2 separate regions of the Homo sapiens genome follow, and region 2 is linked to region 1. The links are contacts of gene promoters, found by promoter capture Hi-C in blood cells and fetal thymus (Javierre and others, 2016). All regions are on one chromosome and are shown on one strand. The core of a region is centred on a gene start or on the middle of the fragment in contact, and the rest is flanking DNA. Distances in the headings are between cores, read along the strand shown.

Region 1 (6,493 bases), core at 1,923-4,422:
GGTGCATCACAGCGGCCCCGGGGATGATCTGAGATCCCCGAGAGGGCCCGGCATCACGAAGGATTCACAGCCTTCCGGGTATCCCAGTGCCCCTGGGACAGGGCCGACAGCCAGAGGGCGGGAGACCATGGGGTCCTCCGGGTGTGCCATATCATCTGCCTCTGTGCGGGGCGGGCTGTCGCTGCGCCGGTCACATCCCCCCAGGGCCAGACGGGAGGTACCGAGGGAGCTGCCGGCGGGGACGGGGCGGCGGCCCAGGTGGCGACACGCGCGACGCGAGCAAGGACTCCTTGGCAGGCGAAGGCACAGGGTGAACGTGCGCCTAGATGTGGGAGCAGCGGCCGCCCTGCCCAGCCGGCGGGCTCAGGCGGCGCTGCAGCGCCCCCGCCGTTCGCGTCGCTGCAGCCTCCGCAGGCGCCGCGTCCACGCGTCCCTCCAGGGTAGCACGAGGCTTCCGCGGGCGGCGATGAGCCCGGGCCCCCGGCCCCCCGCGCCCCCAGCCGCGGCTCCAGGCCCGCCCCCCAGCAGGAGGTAGCGGCGGCCGGGGAGCAGGCGCGGGCAGCCGCAGGCCGCATCCCCGGCGGGCACCCACAGCGCGCTACTCCCGCGCCGCGCGCGCTCCTCTCCGCTCCGGAACACGGCGAGCACCGCCACCGGGAAGCGTGTCCACGCGCCGCGCGCCTCGCCGCGCGCACCCACCGCCACCTGCACCGCTGCGGGGAGAGCGAGAGGGGGCGGGGTCAGGAAGGGGCGGCCTGCCCGCGGTAGGGGGAGGCACGGGGAGGACACCAGGAGGGCAGTGGGGGCTGAAGGGGCGGGGTCGCTGCCCGTGGAGGACCTGAGGGATGAGGATGGGCCTTGGGGCCCAGCAAGGGTCAAGGCGTTCCAAGGGGAAGCTGGCGGAGGAGGGAAGGTAGGGAGAGGAGGAAGGTGGGAAGGTCCGCGGGAGGCCTGAGGGCACCTACCATAGTCCTTCTTGCAGAACTTCTTTAGGCTGATGCGGTAGCTGCCACGGGCAGGTTTGCAGTGCGAGTCACAGTCTGGGTAGAAGGTGGGAGGCTGGCACAGACTCCCTTTCCCCACCCTCTCCTCCCAGAGCCCCCTCCCCCAAAGTCATGCCAGTCTGGGGCCCTGTCCTGTGTCCACTCACCCTGGGGCTGCACAGGGCTGCTGTCCTCAGTGGGTCCAGGGATAGGGGTCTCTGCAGAGAGGGAGGGAGAATGGCCTGCGATGGAGGGGCAGAGAGATCTGCAGGGCTCGGGGAATAGACGGGACAACAGCAGGGAGCTGGGGTGGCCTTGGCTTGGTGGCTGAGGCGGGGCAGGGTCACTCACTAACACAGGGCGCCACTGGGGAGCGGCTTTGCTGGAAGCCAGGCGCGCAGCGGTTGCAGGTGAGGCCAGTGACGCCATCCTTGCAGGGACACTGGCCTGTGGTCTGGTTGCAGGTCTTGCCAGCAGCACCAACCGGGTGACAGTCGCAGGCTGAGGACAGAGGTGGGAAGGGCCTGGTCAGAAGCCTGTCTGGGGATCTGGGAAGTCAGAGGGTGAGGGCCTGCAGGTGGCCGGTGGTGGCTCACCCCTGCAAGCCCGACGGTCACTCAGGGCACGGCCAGGGTCTCGATAGAAGCCCTCCCGGCAGTAGTGGCAGTGGCGGCCGGCGGTGTTGTGCCGGCAGTTGAGACAGACACCCCCGCTGCGGCGGCCGGACAGTCGGTACAGCTCCATGTTGAAGCGGCAGCGGCGGGCATGGCCGTTGCAGGAGCAAGCTGCAGGGAGGGATGGGTCAGGGGCAGGCTGGTTGTGTCCAAGGTCCCCAGGCCACCCTCCAAGGCCTCACCGAGGCAGGCGTGGGATTCCCGGGCAGTGGCCCGCTGCCATGGCCTGTCGCAGTAGAAGGGCTTGCAGCGGCCGCAGTCAGGGCCCTCGGTGCCATGCCGACAGTCGCAGATCAGGTGGCCCTGTGTGTCCAGCAGGCACCGTGAGGCATGTCCATTGCACTTGCAGCGCCCGCCCACCTGGAGGTCGGTGGCTGCGTAGGAGTAAGGGACGACGGCCTCCATGTCCCTGGGGTCACCTGCCGTGCTAGGCCTTGTGAGCACTACACGGACGTCGGTGGCGGTCACCCAGTCTTGGAGCACTGGGCTGCTGTCCAGGTCCAGGCCTGGGGGGCTGCTGTCCTGCATGCTGAAGGCCAGAAGGCCGCTGCCATCAGGCTGGGCCAGGGGTGCGGGGAAGCACAGGGCCTCAGGCCCTGGGCCAGCTGGGCCATTGGCAGGGGCAGGCAGACGGCCATAGTCCAGGTCACAGTGGGAGGAGAAGAAGCCCAGCGGGGCCCAGCTGCGGCCATGGTCCTGAGACTTGAGCAGGGCCACGGAGGCTGGGGGAGCTGAGCAGAAGCGCAGGCTCACGAAGACCAGCTCAAAAGCCTTGCCCAGGGGCACCGTGAGAGTCACGTTGAGGGGCGCCCGAGGCAGGGACTCCGAGCGCCAGCACAGAGGGCTGGCCGTGCCCCCTGGGGAAGTAAGGAGGGCGGGGGAGTGTGCCCGTCGCGGGTCGGAGGCGTCGCAGGCCCGAGTGGCCGGCCGCCCGCACGTGCTGGAAGCCAGCACCTCGCGGCCCAGGGCGGCGTTCACCAGTCCTGGCACGCAGCCGCGGGGCGCACCCCCCTCATCGTGGCAGGGGTCGGCGGGCGCCGGCGGCCCAGGACTCAGGGCGGCGAAGAGCGTGCCTGCCGTCAGCAGCAGCCCCCAGGGCCAGCCAGGCATGGCCGGAGCCGCTGCGGGTCAGCCAGTGGCCGGGCCCCAAGACGCTGCCCTTGGGGAAAAGAAGCCCTCTCCGCGGCTCTGCCCACCAGGCCCGCAATGCCGAGGAACAGGGCCCCCGGGCGGCCCCAGCCCGGCCCAGAGGTGGGAGCAGCGGCGGGCACGCCCCGGGCCCAGCACAGCAGCGGGGATGTTGGCGCGTCCTCCCGCTGGGCCTAGAGCGATGACAGGCGTCGCCCCCGCTCCCGGTGCCTCCGCCCGCGGAGGCCCCACCCGCCGCTCGCACTCACCCACCGAGGGCCGGGCGGAGCAGGTCTCCCGGCCTCCCGGGAAGGGCCGTGGGCGGGCGGGGCCTGCGGTGCACGGGCCGCCGCCTCCTCCCGGCTGCAGCGAGGGCGGACGAGCTGTGCCAGGAGGGGGTGGGGGGCGCAGCAGGCGCAAGCCCGGGCCCAGCCGGGGGCGGGGCTGCTCGGGTCGGGAAGGAGGCAGGGGAGGGGAGGGGGCCTCATCGCAGAGCTGGAATCAGAAGCAGATTCAGACGCGGGCTGGGCCAGCGGGGAAGGGGGCTGGGAGGCCCGGGAGCCAGGGGAGGGGCCGGGGAGCCAGGAATGCGCTGGCGGGAGGGGTCTGGAGGGGGGCAGCTCAGCCTTCGCAGCCCGTGGGGGACCACCCAGCAGGGTCCTGGGCCCACAGCCAGGTCTTTACTGCTCCTGGGGCTGTGCCACGTGCTGGACGGGGGTCTGGGTCGCCTCCTCCCTGAAGACCATCAGGCAGGCAAGGCCCCGGGTCTGACAGCAGAGGCCCTGGATGTTCCCCAGGTAGGGAAGCCAAGTAACCACCAGTTGAAGGGTCATCCCCAAAGCAGCATCTACTCGAGTAGAAGGAACCCAGGATTCGGTCAGGTCTAATTTTGAATCCAACTGCCCCATTTCTGGCTGCATGTCTTGGGCTCCTGTTTCCTCACCTGCCAGATGCCTGTTACTCAGCACGCGCTCTGAAGCTGTTGGATTTGATGAGTCTCAAGTGGCATCAGGCCCAAGTCGAGAGCTGCACAAATTGGAGTGTCTCCTGCCCATGTTGAGGAAGGGGGGCACCCCCATGGGCCTGAGCTGGGCTAAGACATGAGGCCAGCATCCCCTGCACCAGGCCAGATTCTGATCCCAAAGCTCCCTGGGTCTGCAAGTTTCTAGGGGCACCTCTGCCACGGGCCCAGCTGGCAGGGAGGACATGGAAGCTGGAGGGTGGGATGGGGTGGCTTCTTGGGGTTCGGGGGCTTGGTTAGCTGTTGAGGACCCCTCTGCAGGGGCAGGGAGTAGGGTTTAATCATGGGAAGGGGCTGGTCGCAACCCGGAGCCCACTGCCCTACGTCACAGCACGTTTGGGCAGGGAAACTGAGGCAGAAGCCCAGCTGGGTGGCCTGGGGACTAGCTGGGGATGGGGTAGCTGTGCCTGGGAGCGACACCACCAAAGAGGGTCCAGGAACAGCTCTGGTCAGAGAAACCTCCTCCCCTCCGACTTTCAGGTCCTTGACAGAGGAGGCCAAGCATCCCAGGGAGGGGCAGGGAACAAGTTCCGTGCAGGGCCAGCATCGAGGCCTGAATGCCCCGTTTCAGATGGGAGGCCAGGCCTGCAGCTGGTGGAGGAGGCCACGTGGGTGCTACCCTGGACACGACCAGAGATGAGCAAGGACCAGGAGGAAGAGAATGGAGAGGTAGACGCATCCCGCTGTTGGGGAGAGGAGGGGCAGGAGGACACGGAAGCCTCCTAGGGGAAACTGAAGGACCAGAGGAGGGAGCAGGAGGGCCTGACCATGGAGGGGAGGAACGGGAAGACAGGGTGATAGGGCACCTGGCTTGGCTCCTGGAGCAACTGACACTGGCTGGTGGGCACCTTCTCCTTGCCACACATCTGCATGTGACAGCCACAGATGCACAGGGATGGGGGCACCGGAGGACTGAACAGAGAGGGCTAAGGGGCTCTCTCTCTGCCACAGGGCCCCTGCCCCTCAGCTTCCTGATAAAGAGAATGGGAATTGTGTCCTTTACAAGTTGAGGGACCTCAACCTGACGGGGCTCACGCTCCGCTCTGTGGGTCAAGCTTAGAACCTGAAACGTCCCAACCACCCTCTTCAAGGTCCTTCTGGCTCCCAACCCCCACCCCCCGACACCCCACCCTAAGGGTGGGAGGAACCCTGGGGGGACTATGGGGGCTGAGATCATCATTCTGGGACAGTGGAGAGAAAAGCCCAGGCCTGACAGAGGGGTCCCACTGGCCAGAGACAAGCCTCTGGGGAAACCCAAGCTGTCTCTGGACGTCAGGGCCACTGCCAGACTGGCTGCCAGCCAGGCTGCAAGAGGGACAGTGGCCAGCAGCCTCTTCCACCCTCATCAGAGGGGCTGGCTTTGTCTCCAGCTCAGCTTCCCTGTGAGCCAGGACTGGGGTCTGCAGAACGTCTGGTGGCTTCTGGGGTGGGGGAAAGTAGGTGCCTGGGGCTCAGCCCTGCCCCAATTGTTCATCTGGGTCAGCAGCAGCGGCGGGAGGCCGTGGGCCCAGAGGGCCATTGTACCGCCAGCTCCCCAGGGAGGAGGCCGCTGGTCACAGGGCCTCTCCCCAGGAACAGTCCTCTGCACACGCTACTCTGCCCCCACCCCCAGCCCTCACAGATGGTGTTTGGGAGTTAGGAAGGGCCTCCCCACAGCGCCCAAGCGGGACTTATTGCTCCCCAGGGACCCAGCCACCTGTCCCAGCCCCTGGCTGGGGCCTCTCCCACCTCCCACCTCTCCACTGGCCCTGCCCCCTCCTGGCACCTTCTGCAACAAAGAAGCTCCGCCTCCCCTCCCCCCACCTGCAACTCAGGCCGCAGTGCTTCGCCTCCCCCTCCCCACCCCACCCCTCACCCCTAGAGTGGCAGCTCCAGCTTTGGGGCACAGGCTGGGGAGAGGGCATAGATGGGCTGGACAGTCCTAGGCGGCAGGGAGCTGAGAGTCTTTCCTGTAAGATGCCCGTTGATCCAATAATTCCCTGCCCAGCCCAGAACCTGCTGTCTCCCCCCAGACGCCTGCAAGCCACCACATGTTCACCTATTGCACATTTATCGAGCGCCTATTATGCCTCGGGGGGTTTCCAACCGAGCTCCGAAGGCAGACAGCCCAGGAGCAGACACAGCGCCGGCTCCCAACGGCGGGTGGTGTGGCCGAGCCCGCGTCGCGCTGCCCTGCACCCAGCACCCTCGCGCCGGGTCGATCCCCCAGCCTCGCAGACCGCTGCCCAGCCAGGCCGCTCTGCGGTCGCGCCAGCTCTGCGCGCCAAGTCAAAAGCTGAAATGCGACGTTGGACGGAGGAGGGAAGAGAGGGAAAGCAGAGAGGGAGGGAGGGAAACGGCCGGTGGCCTTCTCTGCCCAAAGGGTTCCAGAAGAAACGATTTGGGGATGGGGTGTGGGGGGCGGCCTCTGCGACCACGCTTGGCACTGCGCCCGCCCGGCCGGGGCGAGGTTGGAGGGAGGGGCGGCCGGCTCGCGGTGACCTCGATGGGAGGGGGCCTCGCCCGCGGCTCAGGGCGCCCCCGGCTCCCTGCGCCCGGCCCTTCGCCTCCGCCGAGCGCGCCAGCACAGGAAGGCGGCGGTCAGAAGCCCCAGGCCCGCACTGAGCGCGGCCAGCGACGAGCCCTGGGCCAGGTCCAGGCGGGGTCCCCGCAGCGAGAAGGTGATGGCCGTGGCAGCCGCACCAGCC
Region 2 (6,346 bases), core at 640-3,139, 180 kb after region 1:
CTGGGCCTGGCATCCTTGTCTCTAAAGAGGACATGGGGCCAGGCGTGGTGGCTCACCGCCTATAATCCCAGCACTTTGGGAGGCCAAGGCAGGCAGATCACTTGAGGTCAGGAGTTCAAGACCAGCCTGGCCAACATGGTAAAACTCTGTCTCTACTAAAATACAAAAACTTAACCAGGTATGGTGGTGCATGCCTGTAATCCCAGCTACTTGGGGAGGCTGAGGCAGGAGAATAAGTACTTGAACCAAGGAGGGAGAAGTTACAGTGAGCCAAGATTGTGCAGCTGCACTCCAGCCTGGGTGACAGAGTGAGACTTGTCTCAAAAAAAAAAAAAAGGACATGGAATTCCATCTCCTGCACGGTGACGTTGGGAAAGAGGTGAGATGCATCTCTGATAGTGCCGTGCAGTGCGGTCTTGCAGCCGGTAGCTCTTGCTCCTGCTCCTGCTGACAGTCCCTTCCTAGAACCACACCATAACCATCAGTGTTAACCCCACAAGACAGAAGCCCTCACACGTGGTCCGTCGCTGCTGATGATATCCTTCCCTGGTGCTTGTATAGCTGGGGGGAGACCCCACCTTCCAGCAGGTGCCCCTGACAGTGCTCAGCACCCTAGATCCCCAGCAGCTCTTCCCAGCAGGAGCGGGAGGTGACACCCTTGGGACAGCACAGGGAGCTCCAAGACACATTCATTCTGCTTCAGCTGCCCACCTCCGGTTCTCTAGCCTCCTTCCCACCAGCTTGCCTGGTGTGAGCCCTAGAGACCCCGGGGTGGGCATGAAGAGACCTGGGGGATCAGCCAAAGATCTCACACGTGGCCCTGTATTCCAGGTGCCGGCTATCACATGACGCTGGTGAAGGAGCCGCACTGCAACCCGGAAGACATCTCCCAGCTGGTCCACCACCACGTGCCCAACGCCACGCTGGAGAGCAGCGCTGGGGCCGAGCTGTCTTTCATCCTTCCCAGAGAGAGCACGCACAGGTACGCCTCCCAGGGAGGGCACGCACAGGTATACATCCAAGATGGGATCCCCATGGGCCATGAGGGCTTTGTGCTCAGAGGCACCTGCTCTGCCCCTCTCTGGCCTGGCCAGTCGGCACTCTTAGACCCTCAGCCTGGGCACCATCAGCCCAGATGAATCTGCTTGGCTGGGTCCTAGGTGCCAGGCCTCCTAGCAAGGAGAAACATAATTAGGACCTGAAAAGGAGAAGCACGTATCTGACTCACCAAAAGGGTGCTCAGCGCTGATGCAGGGCTCACACTCCCCCTTCTGACACCAGGCTCAACACGTGCTGCGGCTGCACTCAGAACTACTCGTGAAACCGAGTCTGTATTTGTATGTGGGTGGTGAATTTGGTCTCAGTGTCAGAGCTGGAGATGTTACCACCTGCTCATCACTGTCTCACACACACGGCAGAACCAGCAAGGGGAGGGAAGCCAGTGTTCCATGACACTATCTATCAGTCTGGATATTATCTGGATAATATCAGTTTATTGCACTTTTCTCCAGTTTGTTGTTTGATTTTGTCAGATTTTTTTCCATTTTACATTTATTTATTTTATTTGTTATTTATTTATTATTTGTTTTGAGATGGAGCCTCACTCTGCTGCCCAGTCCAGAGTGCAGTGGCACAATCTCAGCTCACTGCAACCTCTGCCTCCCAGGTTCAAGCAATTCTCCTGCCTCAGCCTCCCAAGTAGCTGGGATTACAGGCGTGCACCACCACACCCGGCTAATTTTTGTATTTTTAGTAGAGATGGGGTTTTACCATGTTGTCCAGGCTGGTCTCAAACTCCTGACCTCAGGTGATCCACCCACCTCGGCCTCCCAAAGTGCTAAGATGTCAGGCATGAGCCACCATGCCTGGCCACATTTGTTTATTTTAAAAACAAGGTCTTGCTCTGTCACCCAGGCTGGAGTGCAGTGGTGCAATCACAACTCACTGCAGCCTTGAATTCCTGGGCTCGTGATCTCCCACCTCAGCCTCCCGAATAGTTGGGACTACAGGTGTGTATCAACATGTCCGGCTAGTTTTTTTATTTTTTTTGTAGAGATGGGGTCTTGTTATGTTGCCCAAGCTGGTCTTGAACTCCTGGGCTTAAGTGATCCTTCCGCCTCAGCCTCCCAAAGTTCTGGGATTCCAGGTGTGAGCCACTGCACCCGGCCTAGATTTTGTACTTAATGTAGCAACATCCTTTCTCTTGTGACTTCTTCTATTAATTTTATTCTTAGAAAGTGTTTCGCAGCTGTGCATAGTGGCGCACGCCTGTAATCCCAGCACTTTGGGAGGCCAAGGCGGGCGGACCATGAGGTCAGGAGATCGAGACCATCCTGGCCAACACGGTGAAACCTCGTCTCTACTAAAAAAAAAAAAAAATACAAAAATTAGCCGGGCGTGGTGGTGGGTGCCTGTAATCCCAGCTACTCAGGAGGCTGAGGCAGGAGAATCACTGAACCCAGGAGCAGAGGTTGCAGTGAGCCGAAATCACACCCCTGCACCCCTGCACCCCTGGATTCCAGCCTGGGTGACAGAGGGAGACTCCATCTCAAAAAAAAAAAAAGAAAGAAAAAACCAGGGAATCAAACCATATGAACCTCACTTTTAGCCAGGCATGGTTGCTCATGCCTGTAATCCCAACACTTTCAGAAGCCAAGGCAGAAGGAGAAGGAGATCAGCTTGGGCGACATAGTGAGACCCCATCTCTACAAAAAAATTAAAAATTAGCCACATGGCCAGGCACGGTGGCTCACACCTGTAATCCCAGCACTTGGAGGCCGAAGCGGGTGGATCACGAGGTCAGGAGATCGAGACCATCCTGGCTAACATGGTGAAACCCCATCTCTACTAAAAATACAAAAACAAAATTAGCCGGGCGTGGTGGCGGGCACCTGTAGTCCCAGCTACTCGGGAGGCTGAGGCAAGAGAATGGCATGAAGCCGGGAGGCAGATCTTGCAGTGAGCCAAGATCGCGCCACCGCACTCCAGCCTGGGTGACAGAGCAAGACTCAGTCTCAAAAAAAAAAAAAAAACTTAGCCACGTGTAGTTGTGCACACCTGTAGCCCCAGACACTTGGGAGGCTGAGGTGAGAGGATTGCTTGAGCCCGGGAGGTCAAGGCTTCAGTGAGCCGAGATTATACCACTGCACTCCAGCCTGAGTGACAGACCAAGACCCTGTCTCCAAAAAAAAAAAAAAAAAAAAAGGCATTTTGGCCAGGCACGGTAGCTTGGTAGCTCATTGCCTGTAATCCCAGCACTTTGGGAGGTCAGGGCAGGTGGATCACAGGGTCAGGAGATCAAGACCATCCTGGCTAACACGGTGAAACCCCATCTCTACTAAAAATACAAAAAATTAGCTGGGTGTGGTGGCGGGCGCCTATAGTCCCAGCTACTCTGGAGGTTGAGGCAGGAGAATGCCATGAACCTGGGAGGCGGAGCTTGCAGTGAGCCGAGACTGTGCCACTGCACTGCAGCCTGGGTGACAGAGCAAAACTCCATCTAAAGAAAAAAAGAAAAAAAAAGGTATTTCAAGGAATTAACCTCCTGTGGCCCCTGCCCCATTCTATAGGGGGATTAGGGGGGTGATTCATTTTAGTTTAGTTTAGTTTAGTTTTTGGAGACGGAGTCTTGCTCTGTTGCCCGGGCTGGAGTCCAGTGGTGCGATCTCAGCTCACCGCAACCTCCGCCTCCCGGGTTCAAGCAATTCTCCTGCCTCAGCCTCCCGAGTAGCTGGGATTACAGGCACAAGCCGCCATGACTGGGTAGTTTTTGTTGTTGTTGTTGTTTGTTGTTTTGTTTTGTTTTATTTATTTTAGTAGAGACAGAGTTTCACCGTGTTGCTCAGGCTGGTCTCGAACTCCTGAGTTCAGGCAATTCGCCCACCTCGGCCTCCCAAAGTGCTAGGATTACAGGTGTGAGATACTGCACCTGGCCTCCTTATTTTTTTAATTTTATTTATTTATTTATTTTTTTGAGACAGAGTTTCACTCTGCCACCCAGGCTGGAGTGCAGTAGCGCAATCTCGGTTCACTGCAGCCTCCACCTCCTGGGTTCAAGTGTTCTCCTGCCTCTGCCTTCTGAGTAGCTGGGACTACAGGCACCTGCTACCACACGTGGCTAATTTTTTATGTTTTTAATAGCGACAGGTTTCACCATGTTGACTAGACTGGTATCGAACTCCTGATCTCAGGTGATCCGCCCGCCTTGGCGTCCCAAAGTGCTGGGGTTACAGGTGTGAGGCACTGTGCCTGGCCGAGGGGGGGTGATGCTTTAGGAACAAATTATCTAGAAAGTCACTGAGAAGTGACTCATAATGCTGGGTCTGTTTTTCAGGTTTGAAGGTCTCTTTGCTAAACTGGAGAAGAAGCAGAAAGAGCTGGGCATTGCCAGCTTTGGGGCATCCATCACCACCATGGAGGAAGTCTTCCTTCGGTCAGTAAATGCGCATTTCCGTCCACCTAGGACTGGGCTCCGTGCTGCAGAGGACTTTTTTTTTTTGAGATGGAGTTTCACTCTAGTTGCCCAGGCTGGAGTGCAGTGGTGCGATCTCGGCTCACCGCAACCTCCGCCTCCTGGGTTCAAGAGATTCTCCTGCCTCAGCCTCCCGAGTAGCTGGGATTACAGGCATGTGCCACCACACCCAGCTAATTTTGTATTTTTAGTAGAGATGGGTTTTCTCCATGTTGGTCAGGCTGGTCTCAAACTCCTGACCTCAGGTGATCCGCCCACCTTGGCCTCCCAAAGTGCTGGTATTACAGGCGTGAGGCACCGTGCTCAGCCGAGGACTTCTAAAAAGTGCAGTGATAAACAGTCACCTCGGTTATGATCTCAAATGCCCACGTGAGGCTGGAGGAACAGCCTGGGGTGGGGCGGGCAGTGGCCGCCGTCAGAGCCCCAAGTGCAGATTGTGACTGTCAGCAACATTGGTGTGCGTGGGAAACGGCGGCACACGTGAGGGGCCTGCACTGCCTTGGGGTCCCTCCTAGACCCGCCACGGGTCTAGCTGGCACACGGCGTCAGAGGCGTGCCCAGCTCTTCTTGGGCTTAGATCGTCCTTGGGAGATACCTGTGTCGTTAATGAAGATGGGAACTATCTCATCCAGACCCTCAGAACTGCATGGGGGCTGGGCGTGGTGGCTCACGCCTGTCATCCCAGCACTTTGGGAGGCCGAGGCAGGCGATCACTTGAGCCAAGGAGTTTGAGACTAGCCTGGTCAACATGGTGAAATCCCATCTCTTTTTTTTTGAGACAGAGTCTCACTCTGTCTCCCAGGCTGGAGTGCAGTGGTGCAATCTCAGCTCACTGCAACCTCTGCCTCCCAGATTCAAGCGATTCTCCTGCCTCAGCCTCAGTAGCTGGGACTGCAGGCGCACGTCATTACGCCCAGCTAGTTTTTTTGTATTTTTAACAGAGATGGGGTTTTGCCATGCTGGTCTGGAACTCCTGACCTCAGGTGACCCACCTGAAGATCTGTGCTGGGATTACAGGCGTGAGCCACCACCCCCAGCCACCATCTCTACTAAAACTACAAAAATTAGCCGGGCATGGTGGCACACACCTGTAATCTCAGCTACTTGGGAGGCTGAGGCAGGAGAATCAATTGAACCTGGGAAGTGGAGGTTGCAGTGAGCTGAGATTGTGCCACTGCACTCCACCCTGGGGGACAGAGCAAAACCCTGTGTCAAAAGAAAAAGAAAAAAACGTGAGATAGGTTTTCCTCCTTAGGGAGCCCACAGCCTAGAGGAGGCGACAGAATAGGTGATCATACATGCAGGACATGGTGGTGCATGCTCTGGGGACACCTGTGCAGGGGACCATGTGTCCAGGAACAGACCCAGGGAAAAAGGCCAGGCAAGGCGGCGGAGGGAGGGAGGGACTGCCCGCTGACCTGTGTCCCACACAGGACCGAGCACTGACTGACTGATTCTGTGAATCCTGGTTGAAGGAAGGAAGGAAGCATGAACATAACAGAAAGAAACCACGGGCTGGCCTGGAGTCAGCCGGCTCTGAGGGTAGAACCCGGGTTGATCCTGCTGCGTCTCAGCAGCCACAGGGCCTCTTGTCTCTCAAGGTCTCAGGCCTCTCTGGCCCCATCTCATACTCACCACACGGCCCACCTGTGACTCAGCTCCAGGCCCCACACCTGACCCTGGCCTCTCTGAGCTCCTGGTCTCAAGAGAAAAATAATCAGAAGCTTTTCCTGGTTTGTCTAGGACCTGGGGAGAGCTAGCCAGGCTGGTAAGCGCCCACCGGAGCTCAGACCATGGGCAGGAAGGCTTTTAATCAGAGGGAATACTGACGAGATGGCAACACTTGGTGTCTCTGAGCAGATCATGAAAGATGAG

What was found. Contacts are between HindIII fragments. The CHiCAGO score rates a contact against its expected background, and 5 or more counts as called.
Region 2: a fragment that was not itself captured here is called in contact with the fragment with the promoter of NTN3 in region 1 in 1 of 17 cell types (endothelial precursors); the score reaches 5.3 in endothelial precursors.

Annotation. Positions count from the first base shown.
Region 1 is chr16:2,467,976-2,474,468 of GRCh38, reverse strand. It overlaps NTN3 (netrin 3), which reads right to left and starts at 3,172. Exons shown (of 6, transcript NM_006181.3): 1 at 1,840-3,172; 2 at 1,580-1,768; 3 at 1,335-1,484; 4 at 1,151-1,201; 5 at 966-1,040; 6 at 324-713. The coding sequence starts at 2,767. The coding sequence ends at 364. It overlaps TEDC2-AS1 (TEDC2 antisense RNA 1), which reads left to right and starts at 6,256. Exons shown (of 1, transcript NR_135198.1): 1 at 6,256-6,493. RefSeq lists silencers at 131-400, 461-520, 591-740, 2,895-3,034, 6,298-6,347 and 1 more and enhancers at 4,968-5,047, 5,208-5,347, 5,307-5,850. The HindIII fragment of the contact is 14,643 bases long and covers 1-4,863 here.
Region 2 is chr16:2,290,226-2,296,571 of GRCh38, reverse strand. ABCA3 (ATP binding cassette subfamily A member 3) reads left to right here. Exons shown (of 33, transcript NM_001089.3): 18 at 832-982; 19 at 4,334-4,432. Among named protein-coding and RNA genes, the nearest start is that of MIR4717, 19 kb to the right of the region's middle. The HindIII fragment of the contact is 8,617 bases long and covers 1-6,197 here.